Linked DNA regions of Homo sapiens: regions 1, 2, 4 and 5 are each linked to region 3. Evidence: promoter capture Hi-C in 16 types of primary human blood cells and fetal thymus (Javierre and others, 2016). All regions are on one chromosome and are shown on one strand. Each heading gives the region's core, a stretch centred on a gene start or on the middle of the fragment in contact. The rest is flanking DNA. Distances are from core to core; before and after follow the strand shown.

Region 1 (4,598 bases), core at 835-3,334, 2.5 Mb before region 3:
TGGTTCATACACCTTTTGCCTGAATTAAAGTATTTCATGTAGGAGGACTTTTATCCTTTTTGATAGACAGTTTCATATATCTTGAACTCAATATCTCAGATCTCTTCTACTGTATTACTGAATAGCATACATACATAGACAATGTTCGCCATTCACTAGATATTTTTTTCTATTATCTTACACTTATTCAAGCTTGTCTGTGATTAATGGAATTGGTGTCAGATGCTGGAATTTATTCTGACCAATGAACACAGCTGACTCAGGGGAGTACAATCTCCTGCCAAGTAATAGAACCAAACCCAATATGCATAAAAGAAATACAATACTCCAGGCTTTAGCTGAAGGAAGCAACTACCTGTGTAATAACAAAGCAGCAAAAACTATTTCTCATGTGGCTGCATAGGCTGTATATTATATCTGATCTCTAATGTAGCTTACTGGTTTGCCTTTTTTAAAACCAAAATTGGAAATTTTCCTTTGTAAAGAAAAAAAGTCTTATGAGATAATTGCTTGATTAATGTTTTGAACAATACCAAGAAATTGTTTAATTAAAATAAATATTTTTGTTTGAAATTGAAGTGGATGTGAAATATTGTCCTTGCCTATAGATCTCAAAATCTAGTACTAATTGTTGGTTGTTAATATGATTCATACAATAGACATTTGTTAAACCAGCTTTTGAGTGGAGAAAATTATTTTCCATTTAAACAGTACAGTGATGATAGCTATCAAACAGGTATACTAAAAAGTCAGTGACTGTGACAGTTTAAAGTGTTAGACAAATGATGTATAAGGTTCTTTAGTAAGGAAAGATTAGCCAAAAATTTTTTACCCAGCTAGAAGCTTTTAAATCTACACTTGATATCTCTGTTCTAGGTAAAATTCAAACAACCAAAAAACAGTGGCCCATCTGTAGCTTATGAATCTATTTAAAATTGAATATTTTATGTTGACTTCTTTCATACTAGCTGAAACTTGCTCTAAAGAGCTTCCTTTGGAATCTTTAGATTTCTTTTTATAAGGTTCAATTCAGTACATCCATAAATCGACAGAATGAAGAAAACATAACAAAAAGCCACCTATTCCTTCCTCTTGCTCCCTTATTAGCTAAAGTAAAATTTACATCTGTAAGACTTACTGAGTTGCTGCCAAAATGGAACTGAATTCTTAAAAGCAGGAACATGCCTATGTGAAACATTAGAAAACCAAAATAAATGGGAAAATTCAGACTTGAAGAGCTGAATCATGTGACAACAAAGTACTGATCTTAATTCAGAAAGGCTACTTGGAGAAGGTGTATCTTAAGGGGTAAAAAACCTGTGGGTTACCACATATTAACAGGGAATAATATCAACAGAGGCACCCATAAGCAAGCAAGACACAACTGAGACAGATGTACCAGGTGAAAAAAATCTTCAGTATGGATACACATGGGTATTCTGAAGGCTACAATGAATGGTTTAGTCTTTGACATAAGGAGGATGAACATATTATTTATACTGTGTAATCTAATCTGGCTTCTATGGGGAAAGCAACATGTACATAAGTGAATTTTCTACATGAAGTGGGCTACTTCTGATTTTAATCAAAGCTATAAAATAGATTGTATATTTCACTAGCTTCTTAAAGTAACTCTTCCATTTTCATTTATCTCTAAAAACAGTTAACTTCCTGTGCTCTAGGAAATGCACCAATACCAAAGGTCAATGTGGAAATATGGGCATGTTTGCCCCTATGCTGTGTGGTCTCTAGATTTCTATATTTGCTTTGCTTTTGTCTGCTCTAGTAATCTCCCTCCTTTTGATCTGTGGCCTGGGAAAATGTGGTTTCTTTGTATTTCAAATAAAAGTAAAATAGTTTTTTGAGTGGTTCACTCAAGAGTAAAGTGTGGAACTTGAATTGATTCTTTAGTGTCCTATTTAAATTCTTTCTTAAAAAAAAATCTCTCAGATCTATTGCATGGGATTAGGGAAAGTTAAACCTTGTCTTAGTGGGTAGTAATTTCTATTTGTGATTTTAATGAGGACTGTGAAAATATACGTAAAATTTACTTATCTTGAAACTAGTTACAATGGCTGTGGAAGAGTTAACAGCTCATGGGGAAAAAATAACTTTTAATATAAAAGCTCAAATTATTAAATTGGGACATAAATTTTTTATACTACTTCCTGAGTCCATTACTATGTTACAGAATGGTAATTCACTTAGAAATATAACTTTTCAAAATGAAAGATTAAAGGACTAACAAGTTATCAGGTTAAGAACATTATGTTTTAGAAAATTCTACATCAAAGATGTAAGTAAAATTAATTCATATAAGTAGGTATCTCCTTATCTATGGTTCTGCTATGGTTTGATGTGTCCCCCAAGAGTTCATGTGTTGGAAACTTAGTTGCTAATTTAACAGGACTAAGAAATGGAGCCTTTAAGAGGTAATAGGGTGATGAGGCTGGAGCCCTCGTGAATGGATTTATGCCATTATTACAGGTATTAGTTCTCAAGAGAGCGGGCTGTTATAAAAGTTTGCCCACACTTGTTTGTCCTTCTATTTTTTACACCCTATTATGTTTTGATGCAGTATGAAAACCCTTGCCAGAAGCTGCTGGCAAATAAACTCCAGAACTGTGAGCCAAACAAACTTTTCTTATAAATTACCTGGTCTTGGGTATTCTCCCATAGCAACAGAAAATGGACTAAGATAGTTTCCAAATAAGCCTCTACTACTACTAACAGTAACTACCAATATAAGAGCATGTACCAGGTCTGAAGCACTGTCTTATACACTGTACGTGTACCTGCTATATGCAATACTCAGTACATCCTCACAAACTGTATTAGATTTACTTCCACAGCTGTATAGCTAATAAGTGGTAGAATCAGGAAGGATTCTGGTTCATAGCCATTCTGCTATACTGCCTAGTTATTATTAACACCTTTGAAGGTTGTCCATTCCTGCTTTTCTTTAGTTTTGGCTCCCATGATTAGCCATTAGCATATACACTGGAAAAAAATAATATAAGGACCATATTGAACTCTAAAAAATCAGTATCACTGTTATAGAACTATAGTTGTGGGAAAACTTTCAAAAGGTCCAGAATGACCAGGAAAACCATATCCCAATTCAGTAACTACTCCTTTCCCATTTAAGAAACCAAAACTTTGAAATAAAATATTTATTTCAGATAAAGTTAATATTTCCATAATTAAGGTAAAGCAAACATATATGCTTGAGTCCATTATTTAAGGACTATAAAATGACTTCCATGAATATTAGAGTTCCTGAATGTCATTTGAGTATCTGCCTACATGCTTGTTGGAAGCTTCTGTAGCCTTTTCTTTGTAGGAATTCCAGTTTTTCTGAATTCTTCCCTTTCCTTCAGGTATTCCATTTTGCATTCTTCATAAAAGGCTGGATCATTATAGCTATGAGAAGGAAATGAAAATATTTTCAAGTAAATAATCCTGCATGTGTTAAATGTAAGCTTACTTTAATTACTAATATTCAGACATCTGGTTCATCAGGCTCAATCTTTAGAAGTACACTTTTAGTAATGGTTAAAAATTCACTGTTAACTTTATGCTACCAAACTAAAGACCAAATCATTCATTTTTATATAGCACTGTCACAGAATAGAGCAATGAGAAGCACAGCTCCTGTCCTGGGAACCCACGGTGTAAAGGACAAGTAAAGACTGGATTAAAATTAAATCTACAAAATACTGTGACAGAGGTATGGCCCAGTGCACCATGGAAACAAGGAAGAAATGGGGAGGGCAGAGGTTTCAAGGGGAAATGCTTGCGTTGTATTTTGAAAGACCAACAGAAATCCATATAGAAGGCAAGTGTGGGAAGACACATGGATGAGGAAAAATTAATGCAGGAAAACCTGCCAAGTAGATAGGTACCACTATAGCAGATTATGCACATAGGAGAAAAGGCCTGAAATGAAGATGGAATGGGCAAAAGTCAAATCATGATGTGCCATTTATGCTATACTCAGAAATTAAAATCAATCCTGAAGAAAATGGGGCACAATTAATAGAGCACCTCACCTGTAAGATCAGTTTTGTGTCTTGGATGAATCTGACAACATGTGGCAGATAGGACAAAAGGAGGCAAGCAAGGTTAGAGGCAAGATAGCCAATAAACTGTTAAAATAATCCAGGCAAAAATGATGGAAGGCGCAGGCCAAAGGAGGAGCTGTAGGAATGAAAAGGAAGAGATGATGTGCAGGAAATTTCAGAAATCAATAGGAAATAACCAATTAGAGTTAGGAGACAAGACTGTAGATACTAGACTACTGTATAATTCACAAAGACACGTTGTAGGACGAGCAAAAGGAGCCCAGTTCATTTTTGGACTTGAACAAAGAAACAAATGTTACTTTCTATAGTAAGTAATTGAATTCATGGGTGCAAACTAAACTTCCTCAGATTTAAGAATGAGAAGAGAACTTGGGGAATCACCAACATTAAGGAGTAGATTAAAAACATGGAGAAGTACAAAGAGATTTTGGGAAAATGGGAAAAAATATTATCAGGGAAGACAGAGGAGACTTTTAAGAAGGGATTGCCAGAGACAGGTCCAGTAAAAGAAAA
Region 2 (4,149 bases), core at 1,650-4,149, 2.6 Mb after region 3:
AAGAACTACAGAGTTGTACATTTTTAAAGGGTAAATTTTATAGTATGTGAATTATATATCAATAATGCTGTTACAGAAAATAAGACAAAAATGATTAAGGGTCTACTCTCTACCAGGCGCTGTGCTAAGCCCTTTGGTCCCACAACTGTGAAAAACCTCGACTAGCCAACTTGCTAAGTACAAAAACGAAGGTTAGTACAAATACTTGTGGGAACACAAAAATGGGACGACACTTTCAAATCCCTATTCAATCAATACATCCTCAGGGCTGGGCTAAGGTTAAAATTCTCCAAACTAGTAAGTGGTTTTAAGTAACCTTTGTGATAACAGAAGAACACAGAGGCCTGCATGACTGCATGATTCTAAATAAAAATTGAACCATATGACAGCATTCAGCTATATACTAAAGCAACCATATTTCACAAGAGATGAAGACACTGAAGATTTTTTTTTTTTTCCCCACATTCTGGCTAAAATATCCCTCAAGGCTTTCAAATTCCCTTTGCTCTGAGTTCAGGCCCCCCAAGCAGTTCTGATTACCAACTCAATTTCCTCAATACCTTGATATTTAGGTAGCTGTTATAATCTAGACAGCAGACACAAACAATTCCAGTAAGTGAAAAGGAGTATCTCTCCTCAACTGTCATTCTATCATAATCAATTTCTGAGTTTGATGACTATGAATACATCCCTTATGAGCTGACTAGCTTAAAGTGTTCTGACAAATCCAGAACTGAACCAACAAAACTCATGCCCAGACTCTAAAAGGCCTTGTGCTCCCCATGGTTTTGTCACCTAATAATCACTTTCAGCACTGTATAGCTATCTTCTCAGACACCTTTTTAAAAACAAAATACCTATACTTAATAAGTACCATTAACAGCAAAAAATATATCTTTAAAAATTATAGGTACACTGAACAAATTCCTTTTGAAATGGATCCTTTTGATTACTCTTAATCAAATTACAACTTGAAATAAAACTGTTTCTGATATGATCAAGAATAAGAACAGGTAAAGATACCTCAAATAAAGCAAAATTTTTTAATTACTATAACTTAGTCCAAATGGATAGCTATTTGACACTGATGAAAATTCATCATCACTAAAGATTTAACTTGTAGCTTGCTCTAAGCCAAAGCAATGTTGTAACACCGATCTTTAATGGACTGAAATTTTTGTAAGACAAACCAAAAAGCACTGCAAAAGAATGGAAGCATCAGGAAGCACAGAGCCACAAAGAGTCAACAGAAAATAGTGAATCCTTTCACTGACACACCACACACACCACCACCAGCACCCCTTCAACCCCAACAGCTCCCCATGCCAAACAGAAACAGATCTGCCCCAACAGCTCTGAAACATACTAACGGAAAAGCTGACTACTTTTCTACCTATTCTGTAAATGAAGAGCACCAGTCTCCACAGCTGTGACATCTTTTATGAGCACTAAAGTCACTTAATAGAACACTGAAATTTTATATCAGTATGTTTCACATCTAGCTCTAAAAGTCGTAACATATTTCTTGCTTTTTTTCATTTTTATTTCACTCTAAATTCTCATTCTTGGATTTAATATTTTTTTTCACCTTCTTTCAGTTAAAATATATCAGAAGTTTAAAATCTTGTAAGTATGTACATAATGGCATATCAGATAGGGCGGCATGCATGAGAGTGAAAAAGAGAACAATCCTCAGGGAAAGGTGCTCAGATATAGCAAAATGCTGCCAGCAATACCTTAAGAAATGTGAAATGAGTGAGAAATCATTTTATACATTTTAAAACAGGAGCAATCCATTCCATGACAAATATATGGGTACCTCAATGAAATAATATTCTCTATACTGAGGATGCAGCTTCAGCGTAATAAACTATGATTTAATAAACTATGCTGAGAGTTTCAGTTGTGTATAACATTAGTTATAAAGCCACACATTCTTCTCAATATTCTTATTTATGTGCATTTACATACTATCGAATGCCATAGTTATATAATTACTTAAAAAGATTACTCAATGATGTGATCTGAGCCATAATCTGAAACTCAAATTTCTACTGCCGAATATTAGAGGAAGATTAAAATAAAAATTAGTCTCACCAGAGAACTAATAAAAATACTATTAGAAATTCCCCAACAGAGGTGTAATTTCTGGTTTCACATTAAGGAAAAGAATTATTCCCACTTTTGAGTTAAGACATATTTCATCCAAATGTTAACCTACAAATGATAAGTCCATCTGAGGCCATTGATAACCACTATAGGAACTTTTAGAAATAAAGTTTTCACATCTCTTTTTCAAATATCAATAATAAAAGGAATTTCTCCTGGGTTTGTTTTTTGAATGCTTGATTACAGAAAAAGTATAGAAAAAAATTATTGTACCACTCAGGTGCAACGAATTTTTATGAAGAAAAAGTAGTCTATGAATCAATTTAATTAGTCGTAAGTGTAAACTTGATGTCTTGTCTCTCTGAAGTACAAATGAATAAAAATTCCTGAATTAAAATCCTTTAAACATTATCTTCTAAATTAGCATTTTAAAATTAATTCCTAAATAGCTAATCTGATCCGATTATCTCATCTACAGGGAAGATAAACTTAAATCCCAGGGTTATAAACAAACAGCTACTCTCCAATGATACTTTCAAAGATATTGAGAGAGATAAATACGCTTACTTCATAACTCAAAGTAAAATTTAATTTTTAACCATAAAATAAGTAGTCCTTCCTAAAACTATATTAAGAGGCTTACATATTGTTACTTCTTCAACACAAACTGTCTAAGCTTGTATTAGCTATGTACCCTATGTTGTAATTACAGTCCTGGAAATTAGCAACATACAGTGAATGAAACTCACATGTTCCATAAAAATGAAATGATTTGGCTTGAAATATTACTGACTACATAAAGGCAACTATAGTCATTCCATAAATCCAGCCTACTACCCAGGTAAGCCTTATAACAGTATCTACTAGTATAAAACTGCAAAACCAAGTGTTCATTTAAGCTTTTATAACAGGAAAGCGTTTAATTCTGTCATATATGTCTTGCTGTCTTCCTACTCATGTTTCTAAACTTTTCTAAAATGTAAAATAAATATATAGTATATGCACACAGCAATATCCAGCTTTAAATTTAACTGCAAAGACATTTATGCAGAAAATAACAGTGGAACACCTGATTTGGGGGTAAAAGGTGCTGCAGGGGAAAGAGAATGGGGTATGGCATTATATGAAAACACTCTATTTCAGCGTCAGCCCACATACAGAATTCCAAAGAGCCAAGGAGCATCCAAATTGCCGTAGTAAAGGCAAATATTTAGATTCACAAAGTCCAGACTGAATTATCACATATCTAGAAACATACTTTTTAAAGAAATCAGGGATTAAAAACTAAGAAGAGCGTAAAATCCTTTAGAACCGCGAGATACTTTGAGGGTAAACCCTAGCACTTCCTTTCGTACTTTTAAATAAAAATATTTTAGTAGACTCTCAAGAATACACAATACAAAACGATGAATCTTGAAAACATGCAAATGGGTCTAACAGCCACCGAGCACAGGATGATGTCTTTCTAAAGCAGCCTTAATTTCCTTAAGGGAAGATGGATTGGACATTTCTGGTTGGTCGTGGGGGAAAAAAGCCACAAGAAGCCACGCTTTATCTTCATTAGAAATGGTAAAGGGCAAAAAGATCAAAACATTATGAGAGAGATCGGAGAAAAGAGGGGGAGAAGTGGGGTGGGCGGGAAGGGGGAGAGGACAGAGGGAATCCAGTTTCAAACCAGGCCAGTGGGGGCTGCAGAGAAGAGACCAGAGAAAAATGGGCTTCGGTTCCAAACTGTGACAAGCGCCAGGCATCACAAAAGACCAATACAACACACACCCCTCACCAGGACACACACAAATATACCCCACAAGGTCTTCTCCGGGCGGGCCACCGGGGTGCGGCGGCGAAGGAGCCAAACCCGGCACTCGCCAGGAGACACACCATGTGCAGCAATTATGCAATTAGGGAAAATAGCAAAAGATCAAGCCGGGCACTTTCCACCGTGACATTTATCCTGTACTTTTGAAAAGACTTAGTTCCAGGATGCGGCTAGGAGAAGGAAAGCGCTGGGAGGGTTGAGAAGGATGGGGAACTGAGAAC
Region 3 (3,967 bases), core at 138-2,637:
CATGCCAATTGCAACACCAGTAGCCACTTGATCAGCTTCTGACTGAGGATGCCAGCCAGAATCCTTCATGGCTAATTCTGCAGCCCCAATGGCCATGATGGTGGGAGAAGACATGGACTTGATATCTGATTTGGACACAAAGTTTTGTTCATTGAACTGACCTTCATCACTACCTCTTGGCACATAAGCAGCAACACTGCAAGGGATACTCTTATACTCTTCACCAACCAGTGAAACAATTCCACTCTCTCCTCCGATAAGACGATCCCAAACCAGGTGAGTTCCAACACCAAGAGGAGTCACTAAGCCAATGCCTGTAATGACAACTCGCCTATGCAATCTGGATATTGGCACAGTTCCGAAAAACTTCCTTTTACTTCTTAACTGTTGGCATAATCTTGAACATAGAAGACGAGTGCTTGTAATTTTCAGGAAATTTTGCAGGCAGTTGGACATGATTAAGATTCAGATGATCAGAAACACATTCCTGTAAAAGACCACAACACACCTAGGAGGTATTCTTTTAAATAGCTTAAGGGCCTAAGGAAAAACATCCAAGGTGTTCCTTTGGGTGCTTGATATGAGCTGCTAATGAACACAGGGAAAATGTTACATACTTTCAATTTATACCTTAACATCAAACTATCTGTTTAAACTTACCTTCTTTTTTAGACCTTAAGTGCCGTCAGACATTTGAAGACAAATAAATGAATTGATGATTCATTCGAGTCACCAAAACAGTAATTCAATGAAAAATATAAAGGCACCTCCAGCCTGATTTGAGCTGCAGGAAGCATCCTTTGTCAGGATTACTGATAACTTCTTCTAAATAGCATTTCTGGTGTCAGTGGCACAGAAAACACATTTCAGGGCATATTCTTTTAAGTAAGTAAGTGGGCTTTATCAATCTTCAGTACTTAAGGATAACCAGCCTTTTCAAAACGCTACCCAGGGCCAAGAGCCCTAGACTGAGCGTCTGGATACATGGGTTGGCAATACACTCTGTGACCAAGCTTGCGATGGGGGAAGGGGACAAGTCTTTCCACTCCTCTAAACTTCTCCAATTGAATCATTGGTGGAAGGAGGGGTTACGACTAGTGGATCACTTCAAGGGTACTACGAAGGCCAGGGGCGGGAGTAAAAGAGTGTAGCCATTCCCTGTATCGCCTCTCAGGCACCACCACACATGTACACAGCCCGAAGAAGCATGGCGAGAGAAAAAGAAATCAGGCCCCAGGTCCTCGGACTCCCCTCTCGAAATTCAACCCCGACTTGATTTGAATGTAAAGGAGGAAAGGAGGGGCGAAGGAGGAGGGTAGCCAGCGATACCTGTAACGGGGCTACCCCGGACACTTCTCCACAGTCGGGGGCGATGACGCTCTCGAGCGCACGCGCACACGCACGTACGCTCATGCGCGCTCGCACGTACGCTCATGCGCTTTCCCACGCACGCGTCCCGTTCGACTCTCTTTCCGCCGGTTGACTTTAAGCCGCGTCACCTTGGCTGAGGTCAGACCGTGGGAGGCGGCTGGGTAGCTGTTTGCGTGAGCAGAGACGCCCCTCTCGGAACCTCAGTGACTCGCCGATAATCGAGGACCTGCCAATAACGCGATGAGGTAGCATTTTCACCCATCAAAAAGGCATTTTTCTTTGGCAGTGATAATGCCCAAATATTCCCTTTTGTCGGAGAAGGGACACCATCGTATTCTACTGGAATTGTAAGAAAGAATTAAGGAAATTCTCTGCAGTTTCAAAGTTATTGCTATAGCTCGCAACGTTATTAGTAATTGTGAGTAAAGTGGAATTAACCAAAATGGCCAACATCAGGAAATTTGTTGTGTATCTTGTGGTACATCCAAATGCCATGCAGCCGTTTAAAATAATTCTGCAGGTGAATATTTATTAATGAGATGTTGCGACTATTTGTTAGGAGACATAGTTACAAAACAGTATATATCCGTTTTTTCAAAAATAATTCTTTAAAGGTCTGCAAGATGTATACTGATTGTGATCTTTCCCTCCTTATTTTTGCTTAGCTTTATTTAATAAAGCTTTTCTACAATAAACAAATGTTTTTGTAATAAAGTTTTTACTTTTTAAAAGTTGTCACCAGGCTGTTCTGCCTATGGAGTAGTCATTCTTTGTTCCTTTACTTTCCTAATAAACTTCCTTTCACTTAAAAAAAAATTATCACCAGATTTGAGACAGTGCTCAAAAATTGTCTCCATTGTCACAATGGAGACATTTGTTTCTAAGTGTGAAAAATTCATTAACTGTTTGCTTAGAGCTGACTGCAAACCGATAAAGGGAAAATATAACATGAAAATGTAAAAAAGCAAGAAGTCGACAAGATGGTATTCATCGAACATCTGTTTTTCACATGCTATCCCAGGCGTGAGTTTTGTCCTTGCTCTTCTTTAGAAAAATGGTTGAGCATAGAATCTTCATCTGGACCTTCTAGTCATATTTATGGTTTTTTCTGGGCAATGCCTCTTGAAGCCATTGTTTCCAAGTAGAGTGCTCTGCATTCTTTCCTACCCCTACAGAAGAATGTGAGTCAAGCTTAGCTTTCCAGGTTGGTCCTGGATTTAAATGAGTTTGGAAATCTATTTTGTTTAAAATAATTCAGCAAAGCTCAGTTTGACCTTCGTCCCAGGCCTAACCAGTCACCTCTAGTTGATCCTCATTCAGTGACAAAGTAGAGTTTCTTGAAGAATTAAAACAAACACATGTGGTTATAAAGTAACACTTGATGAGTAAGTACCTAAACTTGATCTCTTTTCATTGCTGTCTTTAAAATAATAGTGTGAAAATACCTACAATATTTTCTCTGAAGCTGAACTCATAAGAAACATACAGTTTTAATGTGCTATTTCTTTTGTAATATCACAAAATCGTCTTGGCTAAGAGGTGACAAAATCTTTCAGAAAAATAAAAAGACCATCATTTTTGTATCTACCTCTTATCACCTTTTCTTTGATCTGGAAAAGGGTGGGAAATTTTATGATATTTAATGGCTTTACATATTTGGTACCATATTTCCTGCTACAATTCCATCGTGTCTTCTTGCACCAAAATCTTCAAATGGGCTCTGCTTATCCTACCCTCCTATTAAGACTTCCTAGGTTTGCCTTAAATTCTTTGTAATCTGATTCAAAACTATCTTTCCAATTATGGCTCCCATTCTCTATTAAATGAGCTTGCCACCCAGCAAACTGATTTTCTCACTATACATGTCTTGATTGACCCTAACTTTTCTCATCTCTGTGCTTTTGCTATTTTCAACAACCACTCATTTTCTTCCTATCAATGCTTGAAGTTTGAATGCAAAAATGAGTAGAGGTATGGCTCTTGCTTTCAAGAAGTTTATGGTCTAGTAAAGGGAGACACCCATAGAAACAAGTAAGTGCAAACTGTTGAAACAGGTGCTATAGTGGAATTATTATAACACAAAAGGGACAATGAGGTCTGTGCTACCTCGTAAAGTCAGAAAAGGCTTCAGAGAAATGATCCTTGAACTGCATCTTGGAAATGAATGTTTGTCTAGTAAATTGGGTGGGAAAGGGCATCCTGGCAGGAGGAGAACAAAGGCCTGGAGAAATGAAGTGTCATGGTATCTTCCACAAACAGCTAAATATGTGGCCCATGTCAAATTTGAAGTGTGGGACAAAGCAACAGTAAACGCATGAGAGTAAGGCAGGGCCCAGATCACAAAAGCCTGGGGTATCATACTGAGGACTTTGGATTTAATCCCGTAGTTCAGAGACCATATGCTAGCCTTCATGGTATAATTTGGAGTGCAACATTCTTTTATTGATTCTAAACTCCTCTAGAAAGGACATGGTAAACTCTCTCATTCCCTTCACTGGAGTCTCTCTTACTCCTCTTTGTCTTGAACAAAGCCACTTAAAATATTTAACTTACCAGCCTGGTTCCTGACACCATTTGACTTTAGAATGTGGATAGA
Region 4 (4,442 bases), core at 1,740-4,239, 2.6 Mb before region 3:
AATGCTTCTTTCCGATACAAATTATCGGAAAGAAAAGAGGGACATTGGCTAGGACGGTACTCCCTGGGGCATCTGAGTGGTGAATATCGACCCCCTGCACTTGATCGAGGGCTAACAGGTATTCGTCGTTTCTCCAATGTCTAACCTGTATACGGTATTCATTCCAGCCTTCGGCTGTTTGTTGAGTAACTACTACTACGTGCAAGGTAGGCTGACACCCTCTACACAAAAGAAACCCCAATACTCGAAAGCGAGATAAAATACCCACGAAAACTCTAGTACAAATCAAACCATCAGTTGCTCCAAGAGGTGATGGAAATTTGCTAAGGTGATCAAAGACAGACGTACCAGAATTAAAATTGACCCTTGCGCCTTATGTGTAGAAGACATTTTGGTTTTTAGATTGGAATTTCAAATTGGATTGAGCAAGATCTCAAGGCAGAATTTCATTTCTCTAAAAACGCCATATCTCATTGCCCAATCTTGTGATCATTTCATCATCTGTAAATTGAGAACAGTGCATCCTTTACAGGATATTTCCAAATTTTAATGTGATATTGTTTGTAAGCCAGACATCTTACGCAAGTAGAAGGTTTTAATATTAAAGAGACAGCATAACATAATGGGAAATGACACTGGATTAGGTCAGAACACCAGTATCTGAATGCTGATTTTTCCATTTACTTGACAATGGGTAAGAGGCTAAACTTTTTCTTCATTTTCCTTATCTCTGAAATGGGTGTAATACATACTCTAAGGCACCAAAGCATAGTTTCTAAGAGTTATGCTGGCTCTGGAGTCAGCTGCCTGATTTTCATTTCTGGCTCCCCTACTTTCTAATGTTTTCATGTCTCAATTTCTCCACCTGTAATCTGAGGAGATTCTTTACAACCTCAGAGGTATTACATAGATTTACTGAATGCTTATGAAGAACAAATGAGATAGTTTCTCCAAAAGGTGAAGCACACTGCTTGGTATACCATAAACGCTTGGCTACTATTAATTACCAATGCAGAACCTTGTCATTATTATTAAGTAAAATGCTGAAGTTTTTTTTATAATCCATGAAGTAATAGAACCAATCTTTTTCTTTTTTATGGCACTTATATTCAGAGTGCAAGTATAGTTGCCTTATCACTGTTAGAAAATAATTTTCAATAACACCAGTAACATTGAATGTATAGTAGATGCTTAGTTGCATTAGAGGTATTACTGTATGAAAGGGATGAAAAGAAGTAGACTGCTCTTCATACCTATGCTAACTCTGGAAGAGTCTTGATCTGTGCAATACAAACTGATTTCTGGACTAACGCAGTTTGTTGGATAACTCAAGAGTCATAAAAATGGAACTGGAGTTTTTCTTCATATTGTATATCTAATGTTGAGTACATTTTTGGACATTTATTGAATTACAGGGCTTTTTATTGCTAATGTACACAGATTAAGAGATGATGTTTTGAAAAGAGGTACTTGATGACCCTTCTTTATAAACTAGTTAGGCTATTTTACAAATTGAGAAAGGGGAATAAGCATTGGTCTGTTCGTCTTCGTAAGACTTAATCCTTGCTCCATAGTATTTTGACTGATTGTACGAAATAGGTTCGGGAATATCCTAACTTTTCAGAGGTAGAAAGGTGGTGAAAATTCTAAATATGATTTACTTCAGGAGGCAATATGGAATAAAGAGCCTACCATATAGGCCTTGATTCAAACTTCAGTTTTGTCACATACTGCTGTGGTGAGGTGAATTTACCTCACCTCTTTGAGCCTCAATTTCCCCATTTATCATGGTGCTAATACCTTTCTTGCCAAGTTTGGTGTGGACTTGAGATAATGTGTGTACCATACCTTTTATGCAGTTCCTGGCATAAATGTGAATTCCCTTCTCTCTGTTTAGGTTGCCATTGTTCTGTATTTGTATTAAACTTTTGCCTTCACAGTTTAGTAAGGTGGCATCTTAGTGATGTAGTCTAACCCTATCATTCTGTATAGGTGGGAAAATTTTGATCTAGAGAGGTAAAGCGAACTAAACTATAATCAGGGTTGCAAATCCTAGACTAGAATCTGTGTTTCTGAATCCTGGGAAAGTGTTCTTTTTGACATAGTTATGCCTTGTCCATATTCTTAGGATAACCAGAATCCCTTTTGTATTGCCTCTTTGAATGTTGTATTAAGACCATAGACTTCTGACAGCTTACTTAGGTTCACATCTCACCTTTGCCACTGATTAGCTGTGTAGCTATAGGTAAGGTATTTAACTTTTCTAAGACTTTCTTCATAACAGTACTTAGCTAAGTGGTAGAAAAATGCATGTGAAAGCACTAGTGACTGGCATATGGTAAGTGATCAATAAATGGCAGATATAAAGATGATGAAATATGAAAATGGCAGATATAAAGATGATGAAATATGACAGGATAATCATATTTATTCCTAGAAAAAAGACCAGTCTGATATCAGCAGATATGTTTTCTAGTATCCCAAACTTTGACATACGTAGCATATGAACAACTGAGAGTTCTCTTGGTGTTGATTGCCATGATGAAGACTGAAATTTAAGATCTTCTAAAATAATTCTAATAAATAATGTTTGAATCTTTTTTTTCCTGTGTTTCTCCCCAAGCTTCAGGTAGTACTGTTCTTATTTCTACCTACTTTATCTGACAAATTGTGCCCTTTCTTTTTTATCATTCTTGGAAATTTCATTGTTCTCAAAAATAATTGTCAATAGTGTTTACCTCAATCTTTTCTAATTCGCTTTTTATATTTAAGTAAACCTCTAAGGAGAAACAAAATTTAATTGCCAAATATATAAAATGTTTGCATGAGTACATATAGATACATTTGCCTATAAATGTGCTTTATTTAACACCCCACTATATTGTGATGAGATGATGAATGTGAAATTACTTTCTATAATATTAAAAATAAAATCTAAAGGGTGTTTACTAATTCATAACATAGAACTAACTGTGCCCACAAATGTTCAAGGATACTAAGAATTGGAATTCTGTAAATTACGTGGTAACTGCTTGGCTTTGTTCTTTCTGATGAGTGGTTCTCAAATTGGAATATGACTTAAAATCACCTGGGTGCTTATTCAGAGTGCACTTTGCAGTTTTTCACCCCAGATATTCTGATTTGCATAGATCTGCAGTGGAAGCTAGGAATCAGTATTTTTTAACAGAATGCAGAGGAATTCTAAGGCAGTGGTCCACACCTTTGTCAAACACTGCCCTCAGTCATCTCCAGCTTCTTAGAATGCCCTTGGAAAAGCAAAATTTATTTATGGAATGTCCCTGTGGAATACATTTATTACTGATTTTCATCACTGAGAGAAGTCCACTTAAGCTTGTCTTTGGACAGTGTTTTGATGTTTGTTAAGTTTTGAAAGTTCAGTTTCTGCTAGACTATTTAAAATACTATCTAGTCTTTGGTAATTTTAATTTTTGATAACAATATTCTGCTCATGGCACTTATTTTTTAAAGATTAATGCTAACAAAGATTTATTATTTTAAGAGCATTTAAATTATGATAAATAAGACTCAGTATAATGTTAAGTTTCTTCAAATGTTAAATGATATAACTAGCTTGGTCTAGTTTGTCAAATAGAATAATAGCCAGTTACACTTTTACCATTTATCTAGAAAATCAGACTTCATGGGCCAGCTGATTTGGATACACACACACAGCCATTTCATTGCAACAAAAGTGTTTAAAACTGAATCTTTATTATGAGACTGATTACCACAGCTCCCTTTACTTCTCTGTAGAAATACATTTTATAAAGGATGCTTGCGTAGCAATAACACCAAAGGCAACACATAGCCTACTTTTTACTTTGCTAACAGTTTTCCTTTCATTATATTAATAAATATAATGGGATATCTGCCTTGTATTGTTTCCTTTCTATGATCTCATTTTCCCTGGACCTGTAGCTTTTACTCTCCAGAAGTCTGGTTTGTACAGACTAATATGATAAGTATTAATATTCTCATGCTTGTGATTTCATATTAATTTTTGCAGGGATAGTAATTAAAATTTTAATTTTCCATTTTATAACAAATTTAAATGACAGTTATTTTAAAACAATAAAAGTTGATACATATATGTGGTGCTAGCACATTGTGTGTTTTAATATATGGCTATTTCTTACATAACTTTTAGGACAGATAAGCAATTTGATGCTGCTTTTCCGCGTATTCTAAGTAATGTTTATAGTGTATAGAATAAATATATAGAATAATGGTATAAAACTTGAAAAATCCTTTTATGCCATTGTTTTCTTACATAATATATGCAACTTTTGATTTATAAATAAAAAGGTAGCATATCAATAGGTAAACCAGTCTGACTACTCATATTGTCTTAAAAATGACTAGCTATCATGTTGTATAAAATGTGACATTATTGTATCAATATACCCCCTTCCATGTAAAGT
Region 5 (4,502 bases), core at 1,698-4,197, 2.5 Mb before region 3:
TTTTTTCTTTTCCTAAAGGCAATCTATTAATAAACCACCCAAATTACATGCAGTTCTAGTGACCAGCTCTTACTCTCTAATACTGTGCCCAAATAAAAGGAACCAGGGCTTCTCAGAGAAATAACTAATTGTATGGATTGGCCAGGGTAGGTACAAGATGAAGCAGTGATACCTTGTGTGAGGGAATAAAAAGGAAATGCTCAAAAAAATGGTGAGAGTATATGACAAAGATCCAGAAGCTAGCTTAAAGGGAACTCTGGCCAAATCTGGGGAAATTTGAACACAAAAAATACTTATGTACATTAACAGAGTACAAACGATTGAAAATACAGCAGTTCATGAGTCCTTACCAAAAATACCAATAATAAATTCATAAATCAATGAAAATGAAACAAAGCAATCTCTTGCTTACAGTAAAATGTCAACAACCATCTAGTAAATGTGAAGGGAGTGTGCTGGAGGTAGAAAATCATTATTTTGCAACCATTATGGGAAAGACTGAATCAGGTAAAAAAAAAAAAAAAAAAAATCAATGGACCCCAAATCAAAGAGAAATATTTGATGAGAAGCAAATATTTACAAGGTCTTAACCTTCCCACAGATTAGTTACTAATTGCAAAACAGAGAAAATACGGCAACAAAACAGGGCAAAACCTTGAGTGGGTAATCAAAATTAACATCACCTACGAGAGACAGATACCCATGTACCTCCAGATGGGATACTCTGGAAAGACACATCATGTATGCAGTATGTGGCTGAGATCAAGGTTATTCTTGATCTAAACAAAAGTCAGATCAACACAAAATAAGGAGAGTTCTGTTTGTCACTCCGTTACCTAAAAACTTGCAGTGTCTTCCCATTGTTCTTAGTATAAAATTCAAAATCCTTGAAATGGTTTACAGATCATTTCATGCTTCAAAACTGAAATCCCAACCCCCAACCCACTGCCATGGCACATACTCCTCTTTGATCTCAATTCTTCTTTCTTATTGTCTTTGCTTAAGCCTGTGTTTTTCAAATTTCACAGAGCAACCATCAGAGAGTTGTTAATCCGATGAGACAAAAATAATGTATTTTCTATGGCAAATATGCTTTTAATTTATAAATATACAAAATGTAGATGTTAGGTCTTTTTTTTTTTGTTCTGAGCCACCAACGTAATTTATGTCTAAGAAGATACTCTAGAGATATGGCGGCAATAATAAAATCAAAATTTTTCTTATAGGCCAGGCAGGGTGGCTTATGCCTATAATCCCAGCACTTTGGGAGGCCGAGGTGGGCAGATTACTTGAGCCCAGGAGTTCAAGTGCTCCTGAGCAAGGAGTTCAAGTGCAGCCTAAGCGACATGGTGAAACCCCATCACTAAAAAAAATAAAAAATTTTTCTAATCAACTCCACAACCTTTTACATATTAAACATACAATGCTCAAAAAAGATTCTTCAAGTTTGTTTACATGTCTAACTTAAAATTTTCTAGTAAATGTAAGGGCTAGTACTGTTCCTGTACCCCTAAAGGTAATTTACCTACATTCCCACAGGAACCACTGAAAGAACCCCAACTTGGAGTACTGCAACCCAAATGTTCCAAGAACATCCATAATTAAATCTTCCCAAGACACATATACCTTAAACACCTTCTCATGGAATGTCATGAAATTCTTGAACCCACTTTCCACCCCCTAAGCCCTATCTCTGTCCCATCTTCCTCCTTTTATTAAGTTCCCGGAAAAAAACAGCAATAGAAGGACACAGGGACACACACACACCTGATTAAGGAAACTTCCCTTAGGCTGCCATGCCCCATTCTGCATAAGTAGAGAATGAATCTATGTTGACAGAGGGAAGAGAACCTAACTAAAAAGGGGAAAGGTCAAAGAAGGGAGAAAGGAATTACTTTAGTTGATAGAGAAAGTGAAAAATCAAATTTATCAGGTGCAGGTTCCTATGGGCCATCATCTGAGAATATAATCATGTCTGAAAATTTGTCCGGAACATGGCAATAAGCAAAGATTGCTGTTATTACTGCTACATTAACAAAAAAAAGGAAAATAATGTAAATAAAACTATGTATAAGCATGTAACCTGCATTTTTTCGCTGGGTTCACAGTTTCTTGAGGAAAACAGAGACCCTACAAAGTTAATTAAAAGTTGCTGCCAAATGAAAATCAAGCTTCTATAAAGATCACAGAAAATACAAAATAAACCAATAGGAAAACAGATTTTGCTAAATGAACCTCAATTGGTGTATCTATTATTCACTTACTCAATATGGGCAAATACCATCGTGGGCTGTACAAAGCAGTAAAACATCAAAATGTGAAACTAAGCTTCAACGTATGAACCAAATAAACACGAAATTAAAAAAAAAAAAAAACTGGCTTCCATACATTTTATTCTGGAATTTAAACAGACAAAACAATTTAGGGAAAAAAAAAAAAACCTTCCTACTTGCTGACTCCACTTTTTTACTCTCCATTGCTTCCATTCCTTCCTTTGATGAAGTTTCCAATAATCACATTGTTAGATTTGACCATGACCTTCCACCCAGCTGCTGACGTACAAAAACTGGAATTATCCCTATTTCCTCTTTTTTTTTTTTTTGAGACGAAGTCTCACTCTGTGGCCCAAGCTGGAGTGCAGTGGCGCAACCTCGGCTCACTGCAACCGCTGCCTTCCAGGCTCAAATTCTCATTCCTCAGCCTCCTGAGTAGCTGGGACTACAGGCGTGTGCCACCATGCCTGGCTAAATTTTTTGTATTTTAGTAGAGATGGATTTTCACCATGTTGCCCAGGGTGGTCTCAAACTCCTGAGCTCATGCGATCTGCCTGCCTCGGCCTCCCAAAGCACTGGGATTAAGGGCATGAGCCACGGTGCCCACTGTTTCCTCCCTTTCTCTCACCATCCTTATTCAATGCAACCACAGGTCCTGTCAATTTCTCCTCATGACGCTGTATATTTCTTTCCATCTGTCTATTACCATCTTGGGCTAAGATACAAACATATTTGGCCTGGACTACTGCTCCTATCCCTTAACCTGTCTCCCTTCTTCCACTTATGACCTGACCCCTCTACAATGCATGCTACCACTGTAGCGAGGATAATAAACACATAAATTATGTTACTGCCCTCTTTAAAAGATTCTAAAGGCATTTGATGCCATTAGAAAAAATCCAAATGCTTTATTATCACAGCCAGCCTTTGAGGACTTGCAGCCTCTGCAATATCTAGGCATTTAGTGACTACCTACTTTCCCAATATCTTTCCTTATGGATCCCCTCCACACTCTGACCCACGTTCAAGTTAAATATTTTAAGTATTTGCTACCTGATGGCCAAGCACACTCTGCCTAGCTTCCTCTCATCCCTCAGATTCCAATTCAAATGACACTTCCTCATAAAGCTCTTCACTGACTAATCTCTTCACCATCTACCACATGACATTATTTTCTTCATGTTTATCACAATCTGTAAAAATGTGTGTGTGTATGTGTGTGTGCCCACGCACGTGTCTGTGTAGGGGGAAAAGGGGGTGTTAATTGTTTTTTCTACCACTAGATAAGCTTTATTGGGAGCAGGAATTTTGTTTGTCCTATGTACTACTGTTCCCTAGGGTCCAGAACAATATGGGACATATACCAGACACTCAACAAGTCTTTGTTTAATCAATACTCAAAAGGTGGCATGGTCTACAGCACTGGACTGGAAATGAAATTACCTAGGTTCTAACCAGACTTGACTCTACCAGCAACTAGCTGTGTGGCCTTGGGTACAACACAAGATTGGAGTGGCTTATGAGTAACTGGAAGGTAAGCAAGTGAAGAGAGCAAGTATGAAGACTTTTTTCCCAAATTTCCTTGTCTAAATTCAAAAAGTGTAGATATATGGAAATCTTTAACCTCTCTCATTCTCAGTCTCCTCATCCGTATGAGATTACTTTAAAGGTCACTTCAAGTTCAGAAGTACCATAATTAGGCTGGGTGCGGTGGCTCACACCTGTAATCCCAGCACTTTGGGAGGCCAAGTCAGGCAGATCACTTGAGGTCAGGAGTTCCAGACCAGCATGGCGAACACGGCGAAACCTCATCTCTACTAAAAATACAAAAATTAGCCGGCCGTGGTGGCGGGCGCCCGTAATCCCAGCTACTCAGGAGGCTGCGGTGGGAGAATTGCTTGAACCCAGTAGGCGGAGGCTACAGTGAGCCGAGATAGCGCCACTGCACTCCAGCCTGGGCGACAGTGAGACTCCGTTTCAGTAAAATAAAAAAAAAAGATACCATAAATTATATGGGCCTAAACTTGAACCTTCCTTACTCACCCCTCACTTATACTCTACCCCTTCTACCCTCAAGAACCAAATCATGGTAGTCATCCTGAAACCAAGCATCGCACAGTGCACCTTACTATCTAAACCTTTGCTCATAGGGCTGCCTCTTCTCCAGCTCCAACCACTGGAAATTCCATCCCTCAAAGCCCAGATCAACTGCTAACTGCTTCATAACCA

What was found. Contacts are between HindIII fragments. The CHiCAGO score rates a contact against its expected background, and 5 or more counts as called.
Region 1: a contact is called between a fragment that was not itself captured here and the fragment with the promoter of OXSM in region 3, in 2 of 17 cell types (naive CD8 T cells and monocytes). The highest score is 5.8, in naive CD8 T cells.
Region 2: a contact is called between a fragment that was not itself captured here and the fragment with the promoter of OXSM in region 3, in 8 of 17 cell types (naive CD8 T cells, fetal thymus, total B cells and 5 more). The highest score is 15.4, in naive CD8 T cells.
Region 4: a contact is called between a fragment that was not itself captured here and the fragment with the promoter of OXSM in region 3, in 11 of 17 cell types (non-activated CD4 T cells, activated CD4 T cells, total B cells and 8 more). The highest score is 18.4, in non-activated CD4 T cells.
Region 5: a contact is called between a fragment that was not itself captured here and the fragment with the promoter of OXSM in region 3, in 9 of 17 cell types (non-activated CD4 T cells, activated CD4 T cells, fetal thymus and 6 more). The highest score is 12.8, in non-activated CD4 T cells.

The regions. Positions count from the first base shown.
Region 1 is chr3:28,318,334-28,322,931 of GRCh38, reverse strand. It overlaps CMC1 (C-X9-C motif containing 1), which reads right to left. Exons shown (of 4, transcript NM_182523.2): 4 at 1-3,423. The coding sequence ends at 3,303. AZI2 (5-azacytidine induced 2) reads left to right here. Exons shown (of 8, transcript NM_022461.5): 8 at 1-1,885. Among named protein-coding and RNA genes, the nearest start is that of ZCWPW2, 28 kb to the left of the region's middle. The HindIII fragment of the contact is 2,477 bases long and covers 846-3,322 here.
Region 2 is chr3:23,203,737-23,207,885 of GRCh38, reverse strand. The region is part of intron 1 of UBE2E2 (ubiquitin conjugating enzyme E2 E2); the gene reads right to left. Among named protein-coding and RNA genes, the nearest start is that of UBE2E2, 2.5 kb to the right of the region's middle. The HindIII fragment of the contact is 223 bases long and covers 2,788-3,010 here.
Region 3 is chr3:25,787,510-25,791,476 of GRCh38, reverse strand. OXSM (3-oxoacyl-ACP synthase, mitochondrial) reads right to left here and starts at 1,387. Exons shown (of 3, transcript NM_017897.3): 1 at 1,330-1,387; 2 at 1-487. The coding sequence starts at 456. It also overlaps a transcript of NGLY1 not described here. RefSeq lists enhancers at 1,090-1,159, 1,170-1,239, 1,379-1,908 and a silencer at 1,342-1,561. The HindIII fragment of the contact is 1,038 bases long and covers 1,016-2,053 here.
Region 4 is chr3:28,343,837-28,348,278 of GRCh38, reverse strand. All of the region lies in intron 1 of AZI2 (5-azacytidine induced 2), which reads left to right. Among named protein-coding and RNA genes, the nearest start is that of ZCWPW2, 2.7 kb to the left of the region's middle. The HindIII fragment of the contact is 728 bases long and covers 2,626-3,353 here.
Region 5 is chr3:28,242,826-28,247,327 of GRCh38, reverse strand. The region is part of intron 1 of CMC1 (C-X9-C motif containing 1); the gene reads right to left. Among named protein-coding and RNA genes, the nearest start is that of CMC1, 3.5 kb to the right of the region's middle. The HindIII fragment of the contact is 1,233 bases long and covers 2,331-3,563 here.